4 separate regions of the Homo sapiens genome follow, and all the other regions are linked to region 4. Evidence: promoter capture Hi-C in 16 types of primary human blood cells and fetal thymus (Javierre and others, 2016). All regions are on one chromosome and are shown on one strand. Each heading gives the region's core, a stretch centred on a gene start or on the middle of the fragment in contact. The rest is flanking DNA. Distances are from core to core; before and after follow the strand shown.

Region 1 (7,761 bases), core at 4,325-6,824, 180 kb before region 4:
ACTGCCTTTTGTGTCCTTAGGAGACCTTAGGATATCATGTAGACCTCCAGGAATGAGGTAATGAGGCATAAGATTTCTCTTCTTTAGAATCTTGTTCACATTATGACTGGAAAATTTTACTTCACACACACCTACACACATACACATCTATGCACATAAATATACATACTCCTATATCTATATGTACAAATGCACACACATTTACACCTACATATACATACACAAACATATGTTATTCTCCCCCAATCCCTAATCCCCAAGCCCACAAAGAGTCTTGTTCTTGCCATGCCAAACCATCTTCCCTGCTTATAAGAGAAAGGAGAGCAGTTCTTTCTATTGTAGAAATGTGTCTGATACACATTACATTCTGCATCAGCATCATATTTAGTTGTTCTACTAGCTCTAGTAGATTTCAAGGCCATGATTTTATATTATTGAATTGTCAGCATTTAAAATATTTAATTCTGCTTCCCTTTCACAATTATCGACTATATTCCCTTGGACTTGGAATGATGATATAACTTACAGGACAGGATTTGCCTGTTTGCTTCATCTTGACTCTTAACCCTTTTCTTTTTTTTTTTTTTTTTTTTTGAGACAGGGTCTTACTCTTACCAGGTTAGAGTGCAGTGGTGCAATCTCGGCTCACTGCAACCTGCGCCTGCAAAGTTCAAGTGATTTTTGTGCCTCAGCCTCCCGAGTAGCTGAGATTACAGGTGTGTGCCACCATGCCCAGCTAATTTTTGTATTTTCAGTAGAGACAGGGTTTTGCCATGTTGGCCAGGCTGGTCTCTAACTCCTGGGCTCAAGTGATCTGCCTGCTTCAGCCTCCCAAAGTGCTGGGATTATAGGAGTGAGCCACTGTGCCGGCGTTGACTCTTTTTATTTATTTATTTATTTATTTATTTATTTATTTATTTATTTATTTTTTGAGAGAGTTTCACTCTATCTCCCAGGCTGGAATGCAGTGGCAGGATCTCAGCTCACTGCAACCTCCGCCTCCAGGTTTCAAGTGATTCTCATGCCTCAGGCTCCCGAGTAGCTGGGATGACAGGCGCCTGCCACCACACTGGCTAATTTTTGTATTTTTATTAGAGACGGGGTTTTGCCACATTGGCCGGGCTGGTCTTGAACTCCTGACCTCAGGGGATCCGCTTGCTTAGGCCTCCCAAAGTGCTGGGATTACAGGTACGAGCCATGGCACCTGGCCTCTTATTCTTATATTAAACAGAAGCATAAGAAATTGCCATTTTCATAAGTTAAAACTGGTAAAAAAAAAAATAGCAATTTCATATGGTTAAATTCAAATATTACATTAATTTTCATTTAGTGGTATTATTTTGATCACTTATATTATTAAATTTCTTAGATATTTTGTTTCTTTGCCTTAATCATTTCCCCCCGATAAAAGCTTGGGTTTTTTTTTTTCTAAATATCATCTGTTGTTGATGAAGCCACTAGGTACAGATAAAAGAGGAGGAGATTTATTTCTTAATCTCTGTCTTTTTGGACAAGGTCTGGATAATCTTTTCCTTCTTGGCCTGTAGCTGCTTCTTAAAGCACTAGTGGCCTCAGCATAGTCATTTTATGAGACCATTTTCTGTGGTTTATAACAGACCTGAAACTGGGTAATTTATAAAGAAAAGAAATGTATTTCTGACAGTTATGAAACCTGAGAAGTCCAAGGTTGAGAGAGTGCATCTGTTGAGCGCCTTCTTTCTGGTGGGTACCATGAAGAATCCCGAGCATCACATGGCAATAGGGAGGCATGTGCTAATGCGCTTGCTGTGATCTCTCTTCCTTTTCTTTGAAAGCCTCCAGCTCCTCCCCCATGATAACTCACTAATTCATTAATCCATGAATGCATTAATCTATTCATGAGGAAAGAGCCCTCATGATCCAGTAACCTCTTACAGGTCGTACCTTTCAACACTGTCACATTGCGGATTAAGTTTCCAACACATGAAATTTGGGAGACACAGTCCAACTACAGCGGTCATCCAGGAGCCTCTTGTGAACCCTACCTGCTTTTTCAGCCTGGGGAACGTGTTTCATGAGAATCTTGTTTGTAAATATTTGTTCATCTCTTGGTATGTGCCATGTTACCTAAAGCCATTTGTTTTCTTCAGTCACAAGCTTGCAGATAATGAGCTCATTTTTTTTTTAAATCAGGTTAAAAATTTGCTGATAGAAGTTGGTGTTGGTGATATTACCATTTTCTTTGGAGTCTAGCCATACCTTTTTCTTGCTATAGCAAAGGACTCCTTGAGAGTGAGCCTTTTCTAAAACTTGAGTACTTGACCTCTGGGAACTGCTATTTCATATCTCACGCCTGCCACCCCTATCACTACAATAGGTCCAGTCTCAGGCACCTTTTTCCCAACTAGTTTTAACAGAATATGAAGTGCTTTGCTGAATCCAGAAAAAGACAGACTATTTTGTGGAATAATAACATCTCTTAGGGTGAGATGGCTTATTTTATATGTCAACTTGCTGTGCCACAGTACTCAGATATGTAGTCACAAATTATTCTGGATATTTCTATAAGGGTGTTTTGGGATGAGATTAATGTTTAAGTTTGTGAACTTTGAGTAAAGCAGATTGCCCTCCATGATAAAGGTGGCCCATATCTAATCAGTTGTTGGCGTGAATAGAACATATGACTCACCTCCCCTGAGCAAGATGGAATTCTGCAAGTAGCTACTTTTATATTTGAACTACAATACTGGCTCCCTCCTAAGTCTTTAGCTTGATGGCCTTTGGACTTGAATTGTAGCACTGGCCCTTCTCTGGGTCTCTACTGGCCCGCCCTGTAGATTTTGGGCTTTTAGCCTCTATTCTCAGTGAGCCAATTCCTTAAAAATAAATCTCTTTATATATAAAATAAATCTATCTATCTGTCTATCTATCTATCTATGGTACACACCACACACACACACACACACACACACATTCTATTAGTTCTGTTCCTCTGACAAACCCTGACTAATAATACACAGGGGATGAAAACTAATGTTTATTTAGTGCAGGATACGTGTCAGGCATTCTATACATATTAACTCAGAATCCCCTAGACAACTCTCGGGGTAACAGATGCAAAAAGGTTAAGGAACTTGCCCCAAAGCATCCACTTAATGACAGACCCTGGTTTGAATTAAGGTTTGTATTATTCTAAAGTGTCTTCAACTACATGACCCTGCATGAAAGAAATGCATTTGATAAGTGAATACTTCCTGTGTTCTTATAATAACCTAATAACATAAGGAAGCTATAAAACTCTCTTTTGTTAAGGACCATATTACTCTCTCCTTTTCTCACTTTCTAGCAAACAACTATCTTTTTTTGGTGGTGGTGTTGATTAGCATCTATTCTTCTTTCTAGTAGAACTGATTTAGTTGAGGATTTACCTTTCTCCCATTGTGTATAATTGTGTTAGGAGGGAATTTCAGGCCCACCTCTGCCTGTAACTTTAATGGGTCAGAACAATTCTTTCCCACTTCTTTGAAATGCTAGTTGGTAAGCTTGTGATTTAAGCTCCACTAATTGGAAAGTTTTCCCCAAGGCTTTGAGGTCTGAGCAAGTGATACAAGGACAGAGAGAACAGCCAAAAGTCTTTCATGAAAGCAACCGCTATTGCAGCTCTAAGATAGTTATTATCTCCTGCTTCTTTTTCCCTTGTCTTCCAGAGTTCCCTTGGTTTCTTTCCCATATCAATTCTGGTCCCCTAACTTCCTGTCTTCTCTGAGAGGCCCATATCCTTCTAATAGACTCTCTTTTGTTTACAGTAAAGTCAGTTTCTGCTGCTTTTAAGCAAGGGACATCGTGATGAGGAATCTCAGGACAAAGATCCTGAGGGAAGGGTGAGATATCAAATATGATGCCCTGTGATAATGAGGCTAGGCGAGTTATCACCTACAGTCACTTGGGAAAAAATATCTAAAAGATAAAGTTTGAAGGCTTAGACTAGTTCTACCATGAAATAACATAATGGTTGTGAGGAATTCAAAAACAGCAGTGTAAGGAGGCTCCTTCTGATGGCATTGGAAGAATAAAAGCAAAAAAAATGATAAGCCCAAGATATTAAAATATCATTTTAAAAAATGGATGTAAACGTAGGGACTTTATGTAAAGTTGTTGAAAATATCTCCTATATCTTGTACATACTGAACTGAGAGAGCCAAGATTTAAACTCAGTGTTTAATCACCAGTTGAATTCACAGTCATATCAGTCAGGATGAGCTGGGTTACACTGTAGTAACAAAATAACTCCATGATGTCAGTGGCTTAAAACTTAAGAATTTATTTCTCACTTGTACTGCGTATCCATTGCAGGTTGGTTGGCAGTTCTGCTCTGCATCATCCTTACTGCAGGACCCAGCCTGGTGCAGCAGTGACTATCTGGGGCATTGCTGGTCATTGTGGCAAAGGGAAAGAAAGGAAGTGTGAGGAATTGTGCACTGGCTCTTAAGGCATCTAAAGGAAGTGAGAGAGGTCACATTTGCTCATATATCTTTGGCTAAAGCAAGTCATATGTACTTTAGTAATTTCAAGGGGGCAAGAATGTACAATTCCATCCGGTATAAGAATTGAAAATTTTTGGTGCACAGCAAAAATGACTACTATCAGAATTTGCTATATTTCTTACATGAAAGTTAGTGCATCAATTAGGAAAAAGTAAACCCGAGGCATCAGAGTAATTCAAACCCCCAAACCCCTCTAAGTCCCCACTGAGCCTTTCTTGACAGAAAATGACACTTCTTTGTTATTCAGAAAGCTAGTTTGTTTTCATGCTGGTACATGCCCATGTAGCTTCATCTGAGGGAGTTCACATTGAGAAAAAAGTCAACAGTCTTGCTCATGCCCCACATATTTTCATCCATAAATCATTAATTAGAATTATACCCTGACATGCCCCAGAGTCCAAAATCAATCTTGGAAAATGAAATTTTGCACAACAAAAGAATGGCAAGCAGGAAAATGCCAATGTTTGTTAATCCTAAAGTGGAAAATATATGTGGGAATAGATTTTATGGACGCTTGGCCAAGGAGAGTGCAGCATGATTTTAGTTTTACTGAATTTGTCAATGTGGTTAATGTACCAGAGATTCTGTATAAAATAGACTAGCTAAGTTGATTGTAACAGTTATTTTTGTCTTAGTTAACACACACACACAAATTGAAACATGCAAATGCATTCAGGTGTCAAAGAAAGTTGACATGTTAGAATAATAGAAATGTTTAACTTTAGAAATTATAGACATAGTCAAATCTAAAGGGTCTAGAGGATAGCCTATTCAGCAAACACCTGAAATACATATTGAAGAAAACACAAGTATCTTTAAAACAACTGTTTGAATACATCTGTTTAAAATACTGTTCTCTCTAGTCCAGAAATTCTGTTATGAAATACTTAATTTACAGTGAGCAGTACCATGGGAGTGGGACAGAGCAGGCAAGACCTTCACATCACAGGCAGTGGTTTGGCATGATCATCAGACTGGCCTGCCTGGAAAAACTATCTGCCTCCTTCTAATTGATTGTGGATGAGTTCCCTAGGAAAAAATTGGGAGTAGAGCAACCACATAACATAAAAGAAACAAAAACTCCAGGTCTAACAAACAAGCCTTAAGCCATGAAAAGAAAAAAGTCGTGATCAGATCCCTTAGCCAATTCCTAAAATTACTTGTTTACAGGATCAGATTCCCTTGAATGAAAGGAAGGCCAGACAACCTTGATACTAGATTCTGCTGTAACACTAAGAGAACATCTGGAAGATGTCAAGGTATCCCCACCAAAGGGAAAAACAATTTACAATACTTTGGGCCTTGTACCACTGAGAAAGAGTCCCAACACTTGATATGCCTTGGAATGAGCATATACCCACCTGTGTATCCTGCTTTTGCCATTTGCCAGGTGACTGGAAAGACTTCTGGTTTTGATTGAGGCCCATGGCAAGAAAAGATGCCCTAGCCAAAAAAAAGCATAACATGGTACTGAGCTATTAGTAACATATGCTCATGGCTAGAACAGAGCTAAGAGTGAAAAGAGGAAATGAGTGGGTTATAAACAGTGTAAGACAGTATGAACAATTACATGTGCATATAATTTTTTTTTCTGGAAACACTGGCAGAAATCTCCCCATATTAGAAGATTGGAAGCACATGTTCTCTAAATTGGGAGTTCATAAGAATAATGACCTTAATTCCTGAATTTTTTTCTGATGAATGGAGAATTAGAGCCATTTGTCTACTCTGAAATAGAAAAGTCCATTAAAAGGAGAGGCTGAATATAGTGGTTTGAACTTTTCAATAGTCCCACAATTCCATGTAACTTTCATACAAGTTTTAGCTTATCATCTTGTCTGTTTCCAGCTAGTAAATTCTGTTACTAAGTGTGAATGTTCAGGTATAAAAATTCCTTTATCTTGGGATATTACGTTCTCAATATAGATCACTAGTGTGGTGCACATAGAAATGCCTTTAGCTTAATGTTTCACAATTCTTAACTGTTCAGTTTAGTTATTGTTTTAGCTATATTTGAGATTTTACTGAGTTTATTTGTATTTTTCTGATGTATCATTGTTAATTTAGGGTTTTTCTAGTTACTTTTTGAGCCATAGGATATACTTTTGGCTCATTAGGCATTCATGTCCATTCTCTTTTTTGGTCACAATGTTTTTTTTTTTTTTTTGCATTGAATTATTCCCTTTAACATTTAAAAAAGTTACATGGGTTATCCTGTTATTTAGGGTATGTAAGATATGTAAGTAGCATATATAATTTTTCTTATTAAACATTAATGACATTTTAATTAAAATAGAAGTAACAAAGATTTTTGTCTCAATGTATAGCAGTGATATTTTATTCATATTTACAATGAAAAGTAATGTCGAATTTATCAGACTCTATGACAGAAATATTTCTGGGAAAACAATGGTAGGATTTCTGAGACATTATTTTAAGGACAGTTAACCTGGACTTTTTGTTTTTGTTTGTTTTGCTTTTAAGAGACAATGATCATGTGTATCGGAGGGAGTAATAGTATGTTGTTGATGTGTGGGTGTTTTATGATCATGCTTCACTTGAATTCTCTTCCCTGTTTCATTCCACTTCTTGGAATTCTTCTATTTACTTATGAGAAGAGTGAGTTTCTAAGAGCTATTTTGAGAAGGGCGATGAATGAGTGTGGAATGAATCAAGGGTAATTGACATGCTTGGCATATAAGTTTGTAGAGACAAAACTTTCATTCCAGACAAATGACCAGGTTTGCCATATGAAGTGGACAGCAGATAGTATACTGTCATTAGCAAAGGTTTACTTTCAATACATAAGATGCCATGGAAGGCACAAGAGAGAAGGATTTATATAATTTTAAAAAGGAAAAATATATCTAGATGGACTATGTAAACAATGACTATAAGCAAAGCACAGGGATTTGAATCCTCAGGATGAAAGGGGGAGGAACAGAAGCCTTCAGTATGAACTGGCTTCACGTCAGAGCATCTAAGACAATCAACGATTTCTCACTGAAGATTAACCTCGTTAGCATTTCTCATGCCATTTTATTCAGAAAAGTTTGTCTACTCAAATTTGACTCACATCGTAAATTCTCTGCCTTTTAACTCACCTAAGCTTCAGTATTTGCAGGGTCTGAGAATGGGGAAAGGGAACTAGGTAGGCAAAACTAGAAACTTTACCCATCAGGTAACCATTCATTCATTCATTCAATATTTATTGAGCATTCCCCTCATTTCCAGTGTT
Region 2 (7,642 bases), core at 2,257-4,756, 190 kb after region 4:
TTTGTCATACTAACAGTTTTAGTTTTAAAAATTAGGCAAAGTTAGGTTGAATAGAGAAAAACAATATTTGCATTCAGAATCTACTTTATTTTCCATCAACTTTATTTTATGATTGTTTCTTTGGTTCTTGTCTTATAACAGTAGAGTTTTAAACAGATTAGGAAGATCATCAAATTGATTTGGTATAAATTGGTTCTTTTTTTCAATGCCAATCATAGTTACATATATCAATATACTTATCCAGAATGAATTTAATACAGTAGCTGTTTTCCTACTGAATAGAAAATTGTAATTTTGAAATGAAAAATTGTCTTGGTTTTTACTATAGAAATGATTTTAAATGCAGAAAGACACTCAAAGTAATCCAAAACCTGAAGGCAAAGCTTAATCTTTGTGACTAAGTCGGATTGAGCTTAGATTTGACATCTCAATTGAAATATGACATCTCTCTCTGCCAACTACCAGCCACCATTGTCCTGAGTCATTAGTTTCCCTTGGAGAATATTGGTTGTGAATTCAGTAATATAATTTCCTCTGGCACTATCCGTGAGATATAACCAAACATCTCCTATCCAAGTTGAAACCTAGTGCAGTCTGGACTAGTTTGAAATTGCATGTGATAGTGGCCCCAGGAAACATGGTAAGCGGTTCTCAAAAGACTATTTGGATAATCATCGATTGAAACTGAACATCTTTCTCCAAGAATATGTGCTTACTTTATTATAGTTACTCTCTTATTAATCCTTAAAGCTCTTATAAAGAGATGGGCACAGACACAGAACAGCAAGGCTGAATTCTAGTAAAAGTTCACCATTTACTATCTATGAGTAACTGGGAAATTACTGAGCCTCTCAGAGTCTCATTTTACTCATTTATAAATATAATCACACCTATTCTTTAGGGTTGTTTGGAATATTAAATGACAGTTGGTGTCTAGTAGAATGTATGACATATGGTTCACATTCAATGAGTCCTTATAATAAAAACAATCTTTTTGTACATGTTATTAATAACATTTAGAATATGAATATATTTGCAGCAACTTCAAAAATCAAATATTAAATAATGGATAAAAAATATTGCTCATAGTTTTTATGATACAAGGAAGGTTCCTAGGTATTTGAAAACCCATGTAATATTAGAAGTTCTTAGATATGCAAAAAAGCATAGATGATTTTGGGAGGGGAGCATCATTATGTATAATAATTATTATTGAGATGGTTCCTTTTGTGGAGAAAGCTAATTTTTAAGTTAGATTTTCAAGAGCATTTTCTCATTGTATTTCAGGCCCAGTTATCATCTGTGTAGATTCATTTTCTGCATGTGGATGTCCAGTTGTTCCAGCAACATTTGTTGAAAAGACTATCTTTGCTTCATTTTATTGTCTTTTCTCCTTTGTCAAAGATCAGTTGACTTTATTTATGTGCGTCTGTTTTCTGTTCCATTGATCTGGTTTGTTTGTTTATTTTTTTGTTTGTATTTTTTTTATTGCCAGTATCACACTGTCTTGATTACTGTAGCTTTATAGTAAGTCTTGAAGTTGCATAGGGTCAGTCCTCTAATTTTTTTCTTCTCCTTCAAATTTGTGTTTACTATTCTGGGTCTTTTGCCTCTTCATATGAATTTTAGAATCAGTTACTTGTTTTCACAGAATATTTTGTGATTTTTATTGGGTCTTTGTTGAATCTATAGATCACATTGGAAAGAAATGACATCTTTACATTATTGAGTCTTCCCATCCATGAATATGGAATATCTCTCCATTTATTTAGTTCTTCCTTGATTTATTTCATATGAATTTTGTATTCTTCCTCATATAGATCTTCTACATACATTGTTAGATTTATAACTATTTCATTTTGGGGAGTGCTAATATAAGTAGTATTGTGTTTTTAATTTCAAAGTCTACGTGTTCATTTCTGTATATAGAAAAGCAATTGACTTTTGTGTATTAATCTTATCTCCTGCAAACTTGTTATAGTCACATAATTAGTTCCAGGAGTTTTTTTTTAATTGATTATATTGGGTTTTCTACATAGACGTTCATGTTATCTGTAAACAAAGTTTTATTTCTTCATTCTCAATCTATATGCCTTTTATTTCCTTTTCTTATCTTATTGCATCAAATAGGACTTCCAGTACAATGTTGAAAAGGGTGATGACAGGGAAACTCCTTGCCTTGCTCCTGATCTTTTCGGGGAAGCTTCCATTTTGTCATCATTAAATATGACATTAATTATAGGTTTTTTGTAGATGTCCTTTATCAAGTTGATAAAGCTCCCTTCTATTTCTAGCTCACTGAAATTTTTTATTATTATGGATGGATGTTAAATTTTGTCAAATGCTTTTTATTCATCTGTTGATATGATCATGTAATTTTTCTTGTTTAGCTTGTTGATATATGGATTAAATTAATAGACTGTTGAATGCTGAACCAGCCTTGTGTATCTGACATAAACCCCGCTTGGTCACGGTGTATAATTCTTTTTTTTTTTTTTTTTTTTTTTGAGACAGAGTCCTGCTGGAGTCCCAGGCTGGAGTGCAATGGCGCTATCTTGCTTGCTGCAACCACTGCTGCCAGGGTTCAAGCAATTCTCTTGCTTCAGCCTCCCAAGTAGCTGGGATTACAGGCACACACCACCATGCCCGGCTAATTTTTTTTGTATTTTTAGTAGAGATGGGGTTTCACCATGTTAGCCAGGCTGGTCTCAAACTCCTGACCTCAGGTGATCCGCCCGCTTCCGCCTCCCAAAGTGCTGGGATTACAGGCGTGAGCCATTGGGCCCCGCCCGGTGTCTAATTCTTTTTCTATGTTGTTGGACTTGATTTGCTAATATTTTGATGAGAACTTTGGCAAGTATGTTCATGAGAAATATTGGCTTGTAGTTTTCTTTTCTTGTAATGACTTTGTCTGGTTTTGGAATTAGGGTAATGGTGGCCTCCAAGAAAGATTTAAGAAGCATTCCCTCTGCTTTTATCTTCTGGAAAGATTGTAGATAATCGATACAAGAATTGATATAGTTTCCTCTTAAACATGTGGTAGAATTTAACAGTGAAACCATGTGAACATGGTGCTTTCTGTTTTGTAAGGTTATTAATTGTTGATTCAATTTCTTTAATAGATATGCACCTATTTAGATTGTCTATTTCTTCTTATGTAAATTTTGGTAGATTCTATCTTTTAAGAAATCGATCCATTTCATCTAGGTTATCAAATTCGTGAGCATAGAGTTGTTTGTAGTATTTCTTCTGTTATCCTTTCAATGTCCACGCGATCTGTAATAATGTCCCTTATCATTTCTGATATTAGTAGTTTTGTTCTCTCTCTCTCATCCTTTTTTTTTTTTTTCTTAGCATGGCTAATGGCTCATTGATCTTATTGATTTTTTCAAAGAACCAAAGTTTGGTTGCATTGATTTTTTCTATTTCCTGTTTCCAATTTTATTGATTTCTGTTCTAATTTTTATTAGTTTTTGTTTACCTTGGATTTAATTTGCTCTTTTTTTTCCAGTACCCTAAGGTGGTAACTTAGATTATTGATTTTAGTTCTTTCTTCTTTTTTAATATATGCATTCAGTGCTATAAATTTCCCATTCAGTACTGCTTTCAAGGCATCATTCAAATTTTGACAAGGTGTACTGTCAATTTCATTTAGTTTCAAATATTCTTATGATTGATCATTTATGTATAATAAAACTTTGGCTACTCAACTCTTGGATGTTGAAGGTATTTCTTTTTTTAAATAAAGTTGAATAAGCATTATTTTGAAAGATTTTTATGCTTCCCTGCCTTTTTAAACAAGGTATGCTCATTATTCATGTCTTCACCTCTTTGATGCTGTACTATAAATTGAAATATTAATTACATTATTGATGGAGTGATTTCTACAGAAGCTATTGAGTGCTGTCTAATTTTTGTCCATATATTCTACTACTGCTGGTCCTTATCAATCTGTCTACACTTTTGACAATTTTTTTTGCCTCCTTGCATTTAGACTGTCACTGCTCACTTTTCAGTATTGTCAGTATCTGAGCCTCTTTTTAATCAATTATGAACTTTTCAACCAGTTAAGCAAGCCTACTAAAATTAAGGGAAGTGAACTCTCCTAAGATTAAAACAAGAAATGTTTGAGTTTTAGATAAAGACCTTGTAATCTTCTCAGTTGCTCCAAGAACTATGTGAGTTCCTGCTTCCTCATTCTGCTTTAGTGAGTAGAATTGTTTGATAACTGTTTCCCATTTAGGTGAAGTGTCTAATGAAGTCCTCTACCTGTTAATGTTTTATTATGTTTATGCAAGGTGTTAGGCTAATAGCAAATTTTAATATTCTTGCATATGATTTCTAACAAATGCATTACAATTAGTGCAATTTGTTTGCTGCTTATTGCCTTGGTTCCATAGGGTTTTGAAAGCTGTACTGGAAATGTCATGCAGAAAAGACTTTTGATTGACTGCTTCAGTGAACAGCAACAACAACAAACGAATCTAGAATGTCTTGCTCTGAGTTCACCTTTATAAGCCAGGGCTTCCTAGTCAACAAGTACAAAGCCTGATTGTGCTCCTAGAATACCTGCAGTCCTGATTTACATTTTTTACCAAGTGCTTGGTAAACTGGACTGCAAAGAAGTGCTCATAGTCAAGCTGTAGTGACATTTTAAGGCACAATCTAAACTCAATGATTCTGTGATGAGAGAGAAGAGAGTCAAAAAAGAAGCAGCCTTACATCAAAGAATGTTTCTGGTATGCATGCTACTTGTTTTTAAGTAGAATATTTTAAATTAATCTCAAGGAAAAAATGAGGTTCTATGTTGGAAGCTTATTTTAAATTTACTGTCATTTTATTTCCAGGTGGAGCACCAGTATTCCCACAAGTTTACGGTAGTGGTGTTACGTGCCACCAAAGTGACAAAGGGGGCCTTTGGTGACATGCGTAAGTGCCCTTTTTTTCTTTGCTGTTAAACATGTAATTATGGTTCAGCCTTTAATTGCTTGAGTTCCTTGACAAATCGGAGGTTCTGCCTTCTTCAAATGTGGTTATGTTTGTCTAGATCTTTGAATGATAACATTTCAAACAGTTCTCTGATGCTATCTGTCAGATTAGCATTTTACCTGGGCCTTAAATTAGCCAAAGTGACAAAGGGGGCCTTTGGTGACATGCGTAAGAGTGCCCTTATTTTCTTTGCTGTTAAACGTATAATTATGGTTCAGCCTTTAATTACTTGAGTTCCTTGACAAATCAGAGGTTCTGCCTTCTTCAAATGTGGTTATGTTTGTCTGGATCTTTGAACGATAACATTTCGAACAGTTCTCTGATGCTATCTGTCAGAACAGCATTTTACCTGGGCCTTAAATTAGCCGAGATCACTTGGAGTCAGACAAAATGATTTTCTTGTGACGTACACATCTTGGGAATTCAAAGAAATTTTGTTCAATTTTGCTTCTAAAAGAATACTGAGTAAAGACTTTAAACAAGCTGCCTCTGTGAGGTATTATGCACTTAGAATTGTTAAAATGTAGTTTTTCTCTAGTTCTTATGCCTTTGAGTGTGTTTATTTTGTATGGAATAGCCATAGAAACTGGTATAGGACAGCCTGAAATGATGCGATCCACAGCCTGAGGATAATGCTGAATTAACTTGTTGACAGTATCTTTCTCCATGTTTTTAAAAAAGGCAATTTTCCTTGTAGAATCTTATTATTTAAATCATTGGAATTCGTGCAAGTGGGAATACAAATAACAATGGATACAACAAAGTATTATGATGATGAATTTGATAACATCTTAGATTTAATAATGTCTTAGATTTAACATCTTAGATTGTTAATATGGGAATGGATAATTTAACTCTCAAAACAGGTTTTGGGAAAGAGAACAGAGATTGCAATGTATCGTCCAGGAAACAGGTAGGGTTCCCAGCCCAAATGACATTTAAACTGGTACCTAAAGGAGAAGTATCTTGGTCATGAGAGCAAGAAGTCCTAGGCAGAGAAAACAGCGTGTTCCAAAGCAAAAAGACCAGAATGCTTGTGAGGAGCTAGAACCGACCCAATATTACTAGAGAATAGATAACGGAGGTGGGGGCTGGAAGGGCAGATGAGACTAGGATGATAAGCCCTGGTAAGACAAAGACTTAGGACTGAGATTTTTTCATTAATGCAATGGAAAGAATTTGATGGCATTTAAGTAGTAAGTCACACAACTGAATTTTCATTTTTCAAAATGTTGTGACTGTAGTATGTTAAATATATTGGAGAGGAATGTGGAAAATAGGTTTTTCTTTTTTTTCAAAGAACAGGAGGGACTTCAGCCTGTTGAAATGGCAATGAAAATGCCAGTAAAGAGGGAGGAGTTAGATACTAAGAAAAGAAAGAATGTGAGCTTAAGGCTCATATCATCAGTGAATGAGGAGAGTCCAGGAAGTTGGTAAATGTCTGAAGCAAGGAGAGGATTGTTAGGTAGAATCTAACAGCAAGAGTTTTGGCTGAGCAGTGGTTTTCATGACAGGTGAGGAGAGCAATGGCAATTTCTTCAAAACTAGCTTCGATCAGATGTTTACATTTTAAATTTTATCTCAGACTTCAGTTTAACCCATCTAATCATCCCTTTATTAATATTTTTCTGAAGTTATTCTTATTTTGCTTTTTACAGTTCTTTTCATTTTCACCATTTTAAATGAGAATTTACTGAAAGAAAGGCCCCTGCGAAAGAGAAGCCTCATTAGAAGCTGTATTTAGACACTATTACCCACCATACTCTTAAGAAAAGGCGTGCGTTTTACAACCAAAGAGGCCACGCTGTGTGTTGGAAAAGCCATTCTTAATTCCACTAAATTCTGTGTCAGTAGCTTGTCAGGCATGCAAAAGACAGAGCTAATTTGACTTTCAAAAATACAGCTATTATCTGTTAGATAAAGCAGCAGCAATCCCCCCACCCCTTTTTTTTAATCAATGAAGCGTTCTGTTGTGTAGAGACAACGGCTGTTATTGTGCTTAAGATGAGTCCAACAGCAGTTCAAACTTTATACTCCATGAGTCTCTTTCAACTGGTGTGGATCTGATTTTCTAGCAACTTCATGGTAGGCCCAGGCACTTTGGCAATGGTTATTTATTATAATTAGAATAGGGAAAAAAGTAATGCTGAAAGTTTCATTTTAAATCTCTTTGAATTGATATTGATAATATTACTAGAAGAATGAACCTGAGATATTAATTAATCTCCTGGGACAGGGAACATTTAGGTTTTGGTTCCCCACAGTGTACATAACACAGATTAGACTCTTAATTTTAGAAGCTTCCTTTTTAAAGTGAAGGACCCATGGAAGGAATGGCCACTGAAGATTAATTGCTGTGGCAGAAAGGACAGTGTTATGGCATTCTGTTAGAATTTTTATTCAGCATTTGTAATTGGATTTTTTTTTGAATTGTTACTTTTGTGTGTGTGTGGGGAGGGAGTTGTTGTCGACCATTTATATCACCTTAATGAGTGCACAAGAGTCGGGAAGAGACAAAAAGAACATGAAGGAGTGTTAGAGAAATAAATATAGTGATAAAGTTACTAAGGAAAAGTGAATAGATGATATATAGTGCCAACCACTTTATTTTTGAAAAGTTGTGGGAGACTCTGGTGAGAAAAGGCACAGGTAT
Region 3 (7,568 bases), core at 2,936-5,435, 170 kb after region 4:
CTTTTCCTAGAGGAAATGTTTCCACTTCCTCTTACTATAGATCTAAGCTCTTTCACGTTTTCAAATGTCAGATCAGTTACCATTTTCTCTGAAGCCGTTTCTACTTTAAACCACTGGAATCTCTCTCTTCTCTGAAACTCTAGTAGGTATTTCATATATACTTGTCTATGTAATTATAATGAGATTTGAAGAATACAAATTTGATAGATTAAGAAGCTGTGACTTAGGAATACAAATGGAGAGGGAAATCTTAAAAGGAACAGTATGGATATCAGCCATATGGCACCACCTGTTACTACTGTGGGACTTAGTGGCAAGTTCCATACCATTGGGTTCCAGGCTCAAGAAACAGACATAGTTAATTATTCTGTGCCTTTGTGTCTGGAGGCATGCTGTTACATTTCCTTGGGAACAGGGAGGTGTTCCTGTCGTAAACTGAGAGTATGGTTTGAGAGACATTTTTAATATAAAGCATCTCATTTACCCATCTGAATTCCTATTGTTTCTTTATTCCTTTGTGCCGGTTGGCAATATCAAACTCTTTGTATAGCCTTAGTTTACAAAAAAAGCACCATCAAATTCACTTAAAAGCTTAAAACTTTAGTGATGTCTTAGTAACTATATATCATTATAAGAATGATGATGATGGAAACATAGTAATATAATGCTCTCTTTGCTTTTAGAATATGCTTCCATATCCAGTATAGTGGAGAAAGCTTTGAATTTGGCAGCGGACAAGTTAGTGTCCAAATGTGTTCTACTTTTAAAAATGTTAATGGATCAAAAAATCAGTGTTTCTATTAAAAATTTATTGTTATCCTTCAGGTATATACCCAGTAATGGGATGGCTGGGTCAAATGGTATTTCTAGTTCTAGATCCCTGTTGGGGGAGCAGGGAGGGATAGCATTAGGAGATATACCTAATGTTAAATGACGAGTTAATGGGTGCAGCACACCAACATGGCACATGTATACATATTTAACAAATCTGCACGTTGTGCACATGTACCCTAAAACTTAAAGTATAATAAAAAAAATTTATTGTTGTATATGAAAATGTACTTGGTGTTTATAAAAGGTGCTCAATAAATTTGCCTACTTGAATTTCTTAGAAATCTCTATAGAGGCCAGGTGCAGTGGCTCACACCTGTAATCCCCTCACTTTGGGAGGCCAAGGCCACACCTGATCACACTGTAATCCCCCAACTTTGGGAGGCCAAGGCAGGTGGATCACTTGAGGTCAGGAGTTTGAGATCAGCCTGGCCAACATGGTGAAAACCCATGTCTACTAAAAATACAAAAATTAGCTGAGCATGATGGTGGGTGCCTGTAGTCCATGCTAGTCGGGAGGCTGAGGCCCCAGAATTGCTTGAACCCAGGAGGCGGAGGTTGCAGTGAGCCAAGATTGCACTACACTCCATCCTGGGTGACAGAGTGAGACTCCATCAAAAAAACAAAACAAACAAACAAACAAAAACTCTCTATAGAATTAAATACTTGTGACTTGCATGAGTTGAGGCAGTTTGAGGGGGATCATCACCAGTTTCATAAACAATGATAATAATAATGATTATTTTGTACATTTATGGCCTTCTAGGTACTGTGCTTGGTGATTTACATATATTTTCTTATTTCATCCTCCCACTGTCTCTGTGAGGATTAGGGGCGATTTTCCCTACGTACAGACAAGGAAACTGAGGGTCAGGATCCCACAGATAGAGAAAGGAGGAGACAGGCTAGAACTTGGGTCATTCTGGCTGCAGTCAAGAAGTTGCTGCCACTTAAATGCTCAACCTTTTAATATCTCCACGCGTCTATACAATGAGTTGGAGGGAAAGAGAAAAGAATCTTTTGCATTCCTATCCCTCTTCCCGCCACATGCCACAACTCTAATAATATCCCCTCTTTTTCCCCTTGTCATATCACTGTACACAGAGAGAGAAGTGACAAAACACTCTAGTCTGGGTTTTTGTTTCTGTTCACTTTTCCTGAGAAGTCCATCTTGCCCTGACAACATGACTAAACGTTTTGGAAAGACCACATACTATTAAACTTTCATTGAATGCCAACAGTTACATTGCATCGGGAAGTATCTGTTGAAAAGTCTATCCAAATTTCCCTCTCATTCATGTTCTGAAAGTTTCTAATTACAGGGCAGGGAAAGGAAAAAAAGAAAGGAAGAAAAAAACCCTGTGAGTTTCACATCTCTTACTTCAGACTTAAGAGACTTTGTACACTCACTAAGACTGGTTATTTAGCTTAGTTATAAGAAACAAAGGAATAGAAACCCTGCTATTTTATGAGTATTCATGAGAGTGGTTGTGCCAACTAGTTGCAGTAAGGTTTCCAGAACTGAGCTAATTCTGGGACAAAAAATTCCTACTGTTTCATGTGGTTAGTTGGACAGAAATGCCTTAATTTTGCAGAAACCTAAAATATCTGCTGCTACTATTAACAGTTACAGAGAGAAAAAAGAAAGGACGGCTGCCTATTCCTAACTGGAATTGGACATGCAGCCACTGCCTGACAATAATGGCTAGTGATTTTTATCCTGAAGGAAGTGATTCTATTTCAGTAATTTCTTCATAGGAGGTCTTTGTTTCTTCCCTTGAACATAACTGTGGAATAAAATTTATAAATATAAATTAGATCTGTTCATATGTATTACATTTTTAAAATAAACTTTATTTTGAAATAATTTAAGATAAGAAATTACAAAAATATTACAGGGCTCTCATGTACCCTTCATTTAGCTTTCCCTAGTGTGACATCTGACAACCACAGTACATTATCAACACCAGGAAACTGACATTGGTACAGTGCTATTAATTAAACGACAAACCTTATTTGGATTCCATTAGTCTTTTATATACATTCAATTTTATCCGGTGTGACAACCTCTACTTTTTTATTAGAATGTTACATCGCTCACATTTAATGTTATTGGAAGCATGGTTGGATGTTCATCTTCCATTTTGCTGTTTTCCATGTCTCTTTTTTTAAATTCTTCTGTTCCTTATATTAAATAGCTATTTTGTCGTGGCCCATTTTAATTCCTTCATTGATATTTTAACTATATTTTTGAGTTATTTTCTTAGTGGTTGCTCTAGGAATTAAACTCTATGCCTTAATTTATTATAGTCCGCTTCATATCAATACTGTCTTAATTCCAGTAAAATACAAAAACTTTTCTGCAGTATAGTTCTAGTCCCTGACCGCTCCTCCTTTTTGCAATTATTGTTGTATACATTAGATAGGATTATAATTTATTGCTATGTAAATGCTATATCTTTTAAAGAATTTGAGAGAAGAAAAGGAAATGTTTATAGAATATTTTATATTAATCTACATATATATTTATATTTGAACAATATAATATTTATAGACTATTTTATATTAACCTACCTATTTACTGTTACAGTTAAATAGAAAAGGCTTCAGAGAAATGGTAAATAACTGGTCTGCTGTTTGAAAATGTGATAGAGCTTATTTACTGGTACCCTGTATTTCTTTCTGTAGGTTCAATTATGATCTGGTGTCATTTCCTTGGTCCAGTATACCTCCATTCCATCTCCTTTCTTTTGTGCTATTATTTCATACGTGTGTGTGTGTGTGTGTGTGTGTGTGTGTCTATAGTTGTTTGCAATAATTCTGCCCGGTTTTGTCAATGTGTTTGTTTTTCTGGGAGAGGATTTCCCACATTCCTCGTTCTGCCATTTTGTAAGCTGGTTCACCTATGTATTGGACTTTAAAGTAGAAGCTTTGGCCAAGACCTTAAGCCATAAGATTTAAGACATGCACTACTAAAATGGATAGTGAAACAGCCTACTCTTTGTGTTTTAAAGAAAGCAGATGGACAAGGACATTTATATAATATATAAAACTTACCCACTTCACAGTTATAAAAGCATTGAAATAGTAGAGATGTGGGAAGAGCTTCAGAAGAGTTTTGTTGTTGTTTTGGAGAGCACTGCTGTGAGTACAGCCCCTCTTCCCTTGGGGTGGAGATCTGGAGAGGAATATGCCTACTAATTCCCAATCAAGAGAGGGGCTTTAAAGAGACCACTGAGAACGCTCATCAGAGGGTTTAACATTTGTCTTCTGCAGTAGGCTGGTGTCTTGTCATACTTGGGAAATATAAAGGACACAAGTAGCAGAATAGTTTCATTTAGGAAGTAATTGCATTCTCAGGGTTTGTTGGAAGAAAGAAAACATGTATGAGTATTGTCCATGGACTAAAGAGAACCCTGGGAAGAATCTTAAATCCTATACAAGGCGTTTGCCTGGTAACATGAAAGAACCTCAGAAAACGAAAACTGGAAGTGGACCACAAGATGCACTGGGGCTGTGGAAAAAAACACAAGCCCCCAGCTGGAGTAGAGATGCGTTTGTGCATGTCAGGGAACACAAGGAAGAAATCTCAAAAACAGAGAATCTCAGAAGAATCCACAAAAAGCATCTATGAAAGAAAGACTCAGCTTTAACATGTACCAAGCCAAGAGATCACAAAACCAGCTTATAAAAGTACTGCTGAAGTAATATTTTTCTTGCCTCTATTCTCGCTCTCTCTGCATCCTTTTCCAACTATAAGGGTTTAAAAACCAGAGTTATCAAGCTTGGGAGGGTTTGACCATAGGCAGGGGAGGGGAGAAGTCAATGACTTCATCCCCTTTCTCCTGCAACAAGCTCTACCTTGAGCAGGAGAGAGACTTTAACTCAACGAACCCGGCATTTCAATGTCTGCAGTGACTGGGTTAATTCTTTTTCTCTTTTCCTTTTTCTTTTCTTCCTTTCACATCCAAGTTAACAGAAAAGTTCTGAGGCTGCCTGAGATTTCATCAGGGTAGAAGGAGAGTTAGCCCTGAATAGAATCAAAGAACAAGACAAAGTTGCTTTGAGATTAAATGCCATGAGTCATGTTTGTTTACTCTCTAGTTATCTTGTAGTTCTTAACCTAGTGATTTTACACACACACACACACACACACATACACACATACATACACACAGAAAGGGGGCAGAGAAGGGAGAGAGAGAAACTAGACTTGGACAGTTAGCTATCTTAAGCATATTTCTTGCTTTGGATTTAATATCAGGAGAGTCTCTATCCAAGTCTTGCTGTAAGATACAGTAGTGGATAATAGGTGGTGAACAGAGTGGTTATGAATGAAGTTGCTGGAAATGAGAAGAGGAAATAAAATTGCTGACATTAAACTTTGGATCCCAGCAACAGATTTCCTCTAAACATTTTGAGTACTAATTTCACCCCCTCTGGAATCTCACTTGTTCTGCTTTTTTTAAATAAATAGAGAGCTAATTTAACATCATTTGACATTAAGAATTGTTAGGAATAAGAAAGAGAGACATCAAAAGAGGGTGTGGCACTATTCTGTGGATTCTTTATGCATCAACCTGGCACTACTTTGAATATCCATCCATCCATTGGACAAATCTTTATTCTGAACCTACTATATTTGGGCCATTGTATTCGGCACTAGGGATGTCTCTATTAATAAGATAAATATGGCCACTGACTTAATGCCTCTTTTGTTCTCCCAGGAAAGACAGACATTGCGTCAGTGGAATGAAAGGCTTGAAGGAGGAGTCTAGAGAACACACAGAACCAGTAACAGGCAGACCAAATATACTTTGAAGGTCACGGAAGGGTTCTCTGTGGAAATGACGTTGAGACTGAATCCTGGAGAATGGGTCAGATTTAGCTAGGTAAACAGTAGTTGCCTAAGAGGTTCAACATGATCTGCCACTGCCTAAATTTCCAACCTCATCATAAGCCACTTTCACGTTTGCTCACCATTCGCCAGCCACTTGTCTTCTCTCAGTTCCTCATACTGCCTGCCTGGAACATTATAGTCTAAACCCACTCTCTCCTCACTCTGCATGGCTAGCTCCTTTTTAGTGCTCACCCTCAATTATTCTTTGTTTCTGCATTTTACTTGTTTCCATCATTTTATACAACTCTATTTCCAATTGTTTCTTTTATTTTTTGGATTCCTTGTTTTCTGATTGCTTTCTAGAGATGGAATCTCCAAGAGGGAAGGGAATGTATCTAGCTCCTCACTTTTGCCTCTCCAGTCCCTTGAACAATGTTTGACACATGGTAGTTATGCCTTAAATGTTTGTTGACTAAATGAATGAATAGAAGAGGTAAGTTACAGCCCTGAGTGGGAAAGAGCTTGACACATTTGAAGGAAAGAAAACCAGTATGGCTTTAGCATAGAAAGCAAAAGGGAAAGTAGTGGTATGGGGCTGAGGAAGTAGATAGAAATTCAATTTTGCAATCTTTTGCACTAGTATTCTTCAAATTGCTGTTAGTGAGTCATGAAATCAATTCAGTGGGCTGTTACCAGCATTTAAACAAAAGTAATAGACTGAAATCAGAGTACATTGTACTTAGCAAAAGTATCACATGAAACTTACTTCTATATTTTAAATATTTGTCTGTGTATATATTTATGTATTGTATTGTGATATGCAAAGGTTTCTTCGTTTTGGTTTGCAGTAAATAGATATAAAAGCCACCATTGTAGACCATGTTAAGGATTTCTGATTTTTCTACTAAGGGAATAGAAACTCATTGATGATATTTTCCCAGAAGAATAGGTTTTAAGATTTCCTTCCAATTGGAGACATTAATCATAATAAACAGTGTTACTACTTTTAGCAACATGCATGCATGAAAAATCAGGCTAGCCTGCATTTATTGCTACCCCTAGATTGCCTCATTTTGTTTCTACAAGGTAAGAAGTCTTATATACTATTGTTTCCCCAGTGCCTACTACAGACTAGGTAGATAGTAAAGATGTATTTGTTGAATGAACAAAGTATCTCCTATGAAGCTACTGTTCGTGAATTGAATGGCCATAAGTCCCAGAAGATGCTCTTCTGCTATGCCATTCTCATTATTACAGCTTTTAACACAGAAAACTTTGGTGAGAATAACTACCAGAATCTTGTTTACTTTTTGAGGTTCCACTTGGAGAGTGTCAAGTATAAAGTCAATAGGGCCACAAAGTTTCATGGTATACACCTGTCTGATTCACCATTTTTTTGCTCCCAAGCACCTTGCATAGCACAAGGCATATTGTAGATATTTATTTTTAAGTGGCAAATATATAAAAAAAACTTATTTTCTACTGTCACAACAATAATTACTACAGATAGTACATCTTTCAAGTAAATATATAATGTTATTAGTGATAAGTCTATGTAATGTTTATCTTAAAAGCAAATCATATGCATTGAATATTTATTATGGGCTAGGTACCTTTCACAGTACTGTTATTCACATTACAAGCAAGTAACCTGGGTCTTAGAATATGAAACTGGAACTTGAATTAAGGTCTTTCTAGATCCCATAACCAATGGTGTTTTCACCAAATTATGCTGCTTCAATAAAGAAAATAATTGGCTTTCCTTAATCCTTTGAATCCCTGATAGTACTGTCCTAGCATTGTCCTACATAGACATTTCAGCTTCTGGAGAGGGAGGACATAAGCTCTCAGGAATTACCACTGCTGCAGCAATCTAAAGGCTTCATGCTCTTGGGCC
Region 4 (7,088 bases), core at 299-2,798:
TGTATAAACTGGATGGGACTAAATGTCAATATTTTTGGCGATTAAGATGGAAGGCAAACTTAAAAGCTATCTTAAAGTCTTTTTGATAAGCTTGGAAATATGTTTTTAGATTAGGCTTACAGTATTATAAAGCATATTTTTCTTTGAGAAGGCTAAAAACCTTAGAAAGACACTTGTACTTACATGTCAACACATAACTCATAATTGCATTTCGAAGGAAGGGAATGTTATTCACAACGTTCCAAAATCCCTTGAAGTGGGTAAGTATGTAGTGCACTGTGTTTGGAGTGGGTTTCAGAAATAATTTTATTCTTGTCAAAAATTCCGCTGCAAGAAGACGAAGAAAGGGAGGGAGAAATTAATGGGACTCATTATAAGACACAAATCTATACAATGATAACTGTATCCAGCCCCACTCCTAATGAGGCAACCAAAGGACAAACTTACGTGTTGAGCAGTTTTCTCCATAGAATCCTGTCCGGGTACAATCGCACTTATACTGGTCAAATCCCACACTCATACATACACCTCGGTTTTGACATGGGTGGGAACAGCAAGGATTTGCTGCAATTAAAGGACAGCAAATAAATCATTCTCTAGTGTCTTAATCTTAATTTAAACATTTAATTGTTTGACTATGAATCAACTTTACAATAATAAATTCAAGAAATATATAGGTAGTCATGGAAATACAATTTTTTAACCTGCCTTAGAATGGATAAAACGTAGAAATACCAATTTTCTATTCTAAATAAGGATAACAGCATATTCAACTTGGTACATCATGTTACTAAGCTTTTCTTAGTTAACTCTTTAGATGTTAAAATTAGCATTTTTAAGAAGTTCAAATAAGTAGCACTTCACTTTCCAAATTAAAATGGATCTAGTACACTAATCAACATTTAGGGAAAAATTCAAAGTAAAACAGCTTACTTTTAAGACATTTTGCTTATCTTAAAACATAATCCGGGCTTTCCTGGGAGCAGGAAAGAACTGACTAGAATATTTAAAACAACTTCTTCCACTCAATAAAAAGGTTCCAAATATAAACAATTCACATATATTGATCAGATCCTGTCTTATCATAATGACAACCTGCAAATTAGTATCATCTATCCCTATTTAGGAGGTGAGAGTGTCTCAGATCGGTTAAGTAACTGGCTCATAATGATCAGTGCTTGTGGGAAAGCTGGAATATCCACGGAGTTCTTTCGAACTCTAGCGGTCCAAGCTCTTTCCCAAGTCACGTAGCTTCTCTATTCGGAGAGAAGTCGGAGTACTGGGATAGACCCAGGAGGTCAGAGCGGAAACTCTGCCCGGGTGCGTGGAACCGGAGTCCCCGGTGCGCGGCGCCAGGTACTCACCTGTATGGCTGAGCGCCAGGACCGCGCACAGCAGCAGGGCGCGGGCGAGCATCGCAGCGGCGGGCAGGGCGCGGCGCGGGGGTAGGCTTTGCTGTCTGAGGGCGTCTGGCTGTGGAGCTGAAGGAGGCGCTGCTGAGGAGTTCCTGGACGTGCTCCTGACGCTCACTGCAAGTCGTATGACAATTGGTCGCTAACCGAGAGAACCTTCCTTTTTATAAGACTGAAAACCAAGCCCATGTGACGAAATGACTGTTTCTTTCCGCCTTTTCGTACCCCCCACAAATTTTTCCCTCCTCTCCCCTTAAAAAAATTGCGTAAGCCCGGTGGGGGCAGGGTTTTTTACCCACGGAAATGAGAAAATCGGAAACCCAGGAAGCTGCCCCAATTTGGGAGCAGAGGGGGTAGTCCCCACTCTCCTGTCTGATCCCTCCCTCTCCTCCCCGAGTTCCACCGCCCCAGGCGCACAGGTTTCCGCCAGATGTCTTTTCTTCTTCGCAGTCTTTGCCCGAGCGCTTCCGAGAGCCAGTTCTGGACTGATCGCCTTGGATGGGATACCGGGGGAGGGCAGAAGGACACTTGGCTTCCTCTCCAGGAATCTGAGCGGCCCTGAGGTCCGGGGGCGCAGGGAATCCCCTCTCCCGCCGCCGCCGCCGTGTCTGGTCTGTACGTCTTTAGAGGGTCGAGGAAGTCACGTCGGGACAGACTGGGGCGAGTAAGGTTAAGAAAGGCTGACATGTTTTATGTTTTAGTGACGACGCTTAATAGGCTGTATATCTGCTCTATATGCAGCACATACATACATAGCTTTTTAAAAAACTCTTATTTTGTGGAATGAAATAGCTACCTTCAGTGTACATAGCTGTAATTTATCTTTGTAGCTAAGTTGCTTTCAACAGAAGAAATACTGTTCTCCGTACCTTCACCCCCTCCTTGTTTCTTGGAAAGAGAGGCGGGAAAGGTAAATTCTCCTCATAATACTGGTCCTAAGCAGTTACCCTGTAAATAGTTAATGTGAGCTCCACGGGTCACCAATATAAAGTTTCCTGCCTTCTGATGGACAAAGGAAGCGGCGATGGCCAGAATTTGCAGGGACGCTAAATGTCCAAAACGTATGCCTTAAGGCATTTCTCTCCCTGATGCGTGGATTATTTTGGTTACTAGCCCTTCATAGGAGATACTGGTAAAATAAATTCGAGTTTTAAAGTTCACTCTTTTGTCTTTTCTGTCCACTTTTCCAAGATTATGAGTTGTGACCATGGATCAAAGTACAACATAGCATTTACTTTTCAGTTGCCTGGGCTTATTGGGGCTAATTTTCTATTCTCGTTTTGGAACATAGTTGGATGAGGAATTAATTAGATGGAAGGGAGATTTTGACAGTTGGAATTTCATCTTTGCTTTTGTTTAACATCTATCATGGGTAGTGCTCAGGGAGGAGCATGTGAGGGTGAGATACTAAAAAATATATATATGTATATGTGTGTGTGTATATATACATATATATATACACACACACCAGAAAAGAAGTGGAAAATAGAAAATTCAGTTATGTCCTAAGTCCTTAGCATTACAGGAAAATGACAGCATAAAACCTGAAATAAAACTACACCAGGTACCTCAATTTGTAGAAGTCTTATAAGAAAAAAATAAATAAGAGACTCACTTGGAGGTTTTTTTTTTAACTGTTTTGCTTAGTGTACACATCTGATTCTTCATGAGACACGGATGACTAAAATTCCATCTCATCTAGGAAGCCTTTCTCCTCCTCTAGTCATATTTCATCATTCCATTTATGGCACTCCTATTTATTGCATGGAATCTTACATGAAATTTCAACTAAGAGCGTGGATCATTTTCTTTTTGATAATTTAATAATTTCAATCTTCTGTTTCATTTTAAAGGAGTAGGTTGCATCTACTGAAATTTGAAGTTTATAGTTAGAGCTACTAATGTTAGTTTGGGTTAGAAGCCATGTTAGAATCCATACTGTGAGAGAGTACTAAAATTTTACATTACAATCCTGAATTCATTTTGAAGTGATCATCATCATTGTCTTCCTTATCAGACATTAATTGTTCTGTTGTCTGAAAAGAGATTTGGATACAAAAGTGAGGGAAAAACAGGGCATAAGGAATAATTATATTTAGATTATTTTAAACTCAAAGGAATTGAACTCCATCTATCCCATAGTGGAAATTCTGTCACTTATATAGCAGGATAGAGTGAAGAGTTCCATGTACTTGGAAAGTCAAAAAAAAAAGTTCAAGGAGAATCTGGGACTTTAAGGATGGGCAGAGTTTTAGAAAGAAGTGCAAATCTGAGCATAAGGAAAAAAGTTACATAATTTATTAAATAACTGACAATTCTGAGACAATAAAATAAAACGGATAGGTACATTTGGGATGCTGGTCATGGGAGTGTATTAAATGTGCCAAACTAAATTAAGACCACTAAACCTGTTTTATATGGAAAAGTACTGTGACTATTGTGTACCATAAAAAAAAGGTTTGATCATGTAAAACTTATAGCTCTCATGTTTGCATATATTCAATGTTTCTGTGTCTATTTTAGGCAAATATATGGATCTGTTGTACAAAATTTCTATTAGCGTCTGAAATTTGTTGGGAAATAATCTACATGAAAAGAAAATAAGGAAGAATCTTAAAAATCTTCCAGAGCTTTCTGTTGAGTTTTACTGCCCCCTTCTGCTGCTTGAAATTTTGTCAACTTTTTTCCTAAGATGCTAGGAAGATTGCCAGACAGATTTTGTGTTTAATTTTATAATGTTCTAAACATTCACATGTTGCACTGTTCATTTCAGATTTGTTTCATGAATATGTTGAAAAGAAATGAAATATTTATTAATTGAAGTGATAAGCCATTCATGTGAGTTAAAAGAAAATGAACAATAAAGACTCTTAATGTCCAAAATTCCAAATAAACTAACTTTTTTTTCCCTTCCTTGTACTTTGAGCAGGGTTCTACTACTCATACATACAGATCCATTATCTCAGGCAAGGGTCCTCTTTCTATTTCCCTCGTTTCTTCTTTGGTGGGTTTAGTGGTTCACTTAGAGAGTGGAGATCACCCCTTGTCTTCTTTCTTTCATGGCATGTTGGCTGAAAAAAGAGCTTTGTGTCAGGGTTATTCTTAGTATACTTTGGCAAGGTTATGCCATGAAGTTTATCTCTTCCTTGAGTAGCAGAAATGTTACTTACAGAAGATCTTTACGTTAGTCCTTTAGTAAAGCCTGATTATTTACCCATTCTTAGCTACACAAGAAGTTTTGAGGCTATAAACGAAAGCACATAATTTGTTAAATTAAGAAAAGTCCTTTCACATAAGTCAATGAAGAAACACTTAAAAAATCTATTTCTAAGTTTTATAAAACACTGATCTCCTTTCTTTTTCTCAAATATCTCAATTCTTTGATGGATTTTTCTTTTACTTCATTTTTTTTTGTGATTGTTCATTATAATACTCAGATGAGCCAAAGTAGTTGAATGAGTTGAACACAGTCTTTGTATTGGACCTAGAAATCTCACAAGGGGACAAGGAAGGGAAAGAGAGTGTGAGGTGGGGGCACTGGAGCAGGCAGGATGTGAACATACCCACGCACAGAATATGAGGCTTAGGACTTTCAGTTTCTGATCTGGCATGTCAGGGAGGAGCTTGGAAATTGTCACTTCATCCTAAAAACAAGTAAAAATCTAAGCAAACTGAAAAATCAACACTCTCAGAACTGTCAGAGAAGTGAGGCGACAGGTCATAACCCTACTTAAAAAATTTGAAAGACAGACCATACAAGAAGAACAACTTACTGGAGCAGAAATGCACAGGCAGAAACCTCCATGAAAACCAGTACCTGGGTAGGAAAACCTGAACTGTAATTGATGAATTTCTGGAGGTTCAGTGCAGATAAGTCTGCAAAGGAAAAATTCTGGAAGACTCCCACACTTTTGTGAGTTTTGCTTCCTGGAGCTCTACGAGGTTCTCGCAGTGAATATCAGAGAAAACTCCCCCTCAGCTCCATCAGAGTATAGTGTTCTTAATAAGGCCTATACTCAAGAGAAATTATTTTATAATATTAGAGCCTAAACTGTCGGGATTTTTGTCGCAGCCTAACTGAATTAGAAGAAGGAAAATATCCAAATTTAACTGCCTCTAGCTTTCCATACAGGGGAAGAAAAATACCCAACTCCAGCCCTCTCTTTAGCTTCTACATTGGAGAAGGGAAATACCCAATTCTAGCCCCCCCCCAGTGATCTTGTCCCACTTAAGGACAGGAAAAGAGTGGAATGAAAAGCACTTGTTGAAAGTCACCGTTCATAGGCACAGGCTCACTAAAAGGCCGAGACCTGCTATAGGACTATAGAATGCTTCACTTCCCCTGAACTCTTATCGTCACATTACAATGTATTGAGTTTCTTTCACTCAGTACATCATGCCTGGCTTTCAACAAAAAATTAGAAGTCACACTAAAAGACAAAAACATAGCTTGATAAGACAGAGCAAGCATCAGAATCAATGTCAAATATGGTAGAGATGTTGAAATTACAATACCTATGAAATTAAAACAACTGCAATTACTATGATAAGACAACACACAAGAATAGGTTGGTAATGTAAGTAGACAGATGGCAATTCCAAGAAATAATCAGAGAAATGCTAGAGATCAAAAACACTGGAACAGAAGTCAACAATGTCTGTAAGGGCTTATTAGTAGACTGGACATGGCAGAGGAAAGAATCCCTGCGATTGCAGATATATAAATAGAGACTTCTAAAACTGAGAATCAAAGAAAAAAACACAGAAGAAAACCAAAACATAATATCTAAGAAATATGGGGCAACTATAAAAGGTGTAATATACAGAGAAGGAAAGAAGGGAAGGAGAAGAGAGAAAGGAACAGAAGCAATCTTTTAAGTAATAATGATAAGAATTACATCTGACTTCTTCTCAGATACCATACAAAGAAGAAAAGAGTGGAATGAAATATTTCACTTTGAGGGGAAAAAACCTACAACCTAGAATTCTGTACCCTACAAAATTATCTTTCAAAAGTGAAGGAGAAATAAGGTTTTCTCAGACAAATGAAAATTGAGGCATTCTGTGGCCAGTAGATCTGCTTTGTGAGAAATGTTAAAAGAAGTTATTGAGATAAGAAAAATGATACAGGTTAGAAACTTGGATCTACATACTAAAGAAACAAAGAGCATTAGAGAAGAAATAAGTGAAGATAAATAAAAATAATTCTTTTTCATTTTTTTTTTGAGACAGGGTCTCACTCTGTCACTTAGGCTGGAGTGCAGTAGCTTGATTTTGGTTCACTGCAACCTCTGCCTCCCAGGCTCAAGCAATCCTCTCACCTCAGCCTCCCGAGTAGCTGTGACCACAGGCCCATGCCACCATGCCCAGCAATTTTTTTTTTTGTATTTTTAGTAGAGACAGGGTTTCACTATGTTGCCCAGGCTGGTCTCGAATTCCTGAGCTCTAGCAATCCATCGGTCTCCCAAAGTGCTGGGATTACATGAGTAAGCCACTGCACCTGGCCTATTTTTCTTATTTTAAATAGATATAATAGATAACATGTTTTGAAATAATAATAGCAATAATGTATTGAAAGATTACAGCTTATGTACAAGTGAAATGAATAACAGTAAAGATACAAAGAATGAGAGAAAGAAATTAGGAGTGACTTCTTATTATTAGGTACTTGCACTA

The links. Contacts are between HindIII fragments. The CHiCAGO score rates a contact against its expected background, and 5 or more counts as called.
Region 1: a contact is called between a fragment that was not itself captured here and the fragment with the promoter of PTGS2 in region 4, in 1 of 17 cell types (neutrophils). The highest score is 6.4, in neutrophils.
Region 2: a fragment that was not itself captured here is called in contact with the fragment with the promoter of PTGS2 in region 4 in 1 of 17 cell types (neutrophils); the score reaches 5.4 in neutrophils.
Region 3: a fragment that was not itself captured here is called in contact with the fragment with the promoter of PTGS2 in region 4 in 1 of 17 cell types (monocytes); the score reaches 5.3 in monocytes.

Annotation. Positions count from the first base shown.
Region 1 is chr1:186,496,212-186,503,972 of GRCh38, forward strand. No RefSeq gene overlaps it. Among named protein-coding and RNA genes, the nearest start is that of PDC, 39 kb to the left of the region's middle. The HindIII fragment of the contact is 4,111 bases long and covers 3,520-7,630 here.
Region 2 is chr1:186,865,588-186,873,229 of GRCh38, forward strand. It overlaps PLA2G4A (phospholipase A2 group IVA), which reads left to right. Exons shown (of 18, transcript NM_024420.3): 3 at 4,848-4,929. Among named protein-coding and RNA genes, the nearest start is that of PLA2G4A, 40 kb to the left of the region's middle. The HindIII fragment of the contact is 2,611 bases long and covers 2,202-4,812 here.
Region 3 is chr1:186,843,758-186,851,325 of GRCh38, forward strand. The region is part of intron 1 of PLA2G4A (phospholipase A2 group IVA); the gene reads left to right. Among named protein-coding and RNA genes, the nearest start is that of PLA2G4A, 19 kb to the left of the region's middle. RefSeq lists a silencer at 5,728-5,777. The HindIII fragment of the contact is 855 bases long and covers 3,759-4,613 here.
Region 4 is chr1:186,678,875-186,685,962 of GRCh38, forward strand. PTGS2 (prostaglandin-endoperoxide synthase 2) reads right to left here and starts at 1,549. Exons shown (of 10, transcript NM_000963.4): 1 at 1,365-1,549; 2 at 448-564; 3 at 184-327. The coding sequence starts at 1,416. PACERR (PTGS2 antisense NFKB1 complex-mediated expression regulator RNA) reads left to right here and starts at 1,780. Exons shown (of 1, transcript NR_125801.1): 1 at 1,780-2,572. The HindIII fragment of the contact is 7,534 bases long and covers 794-7,088 here.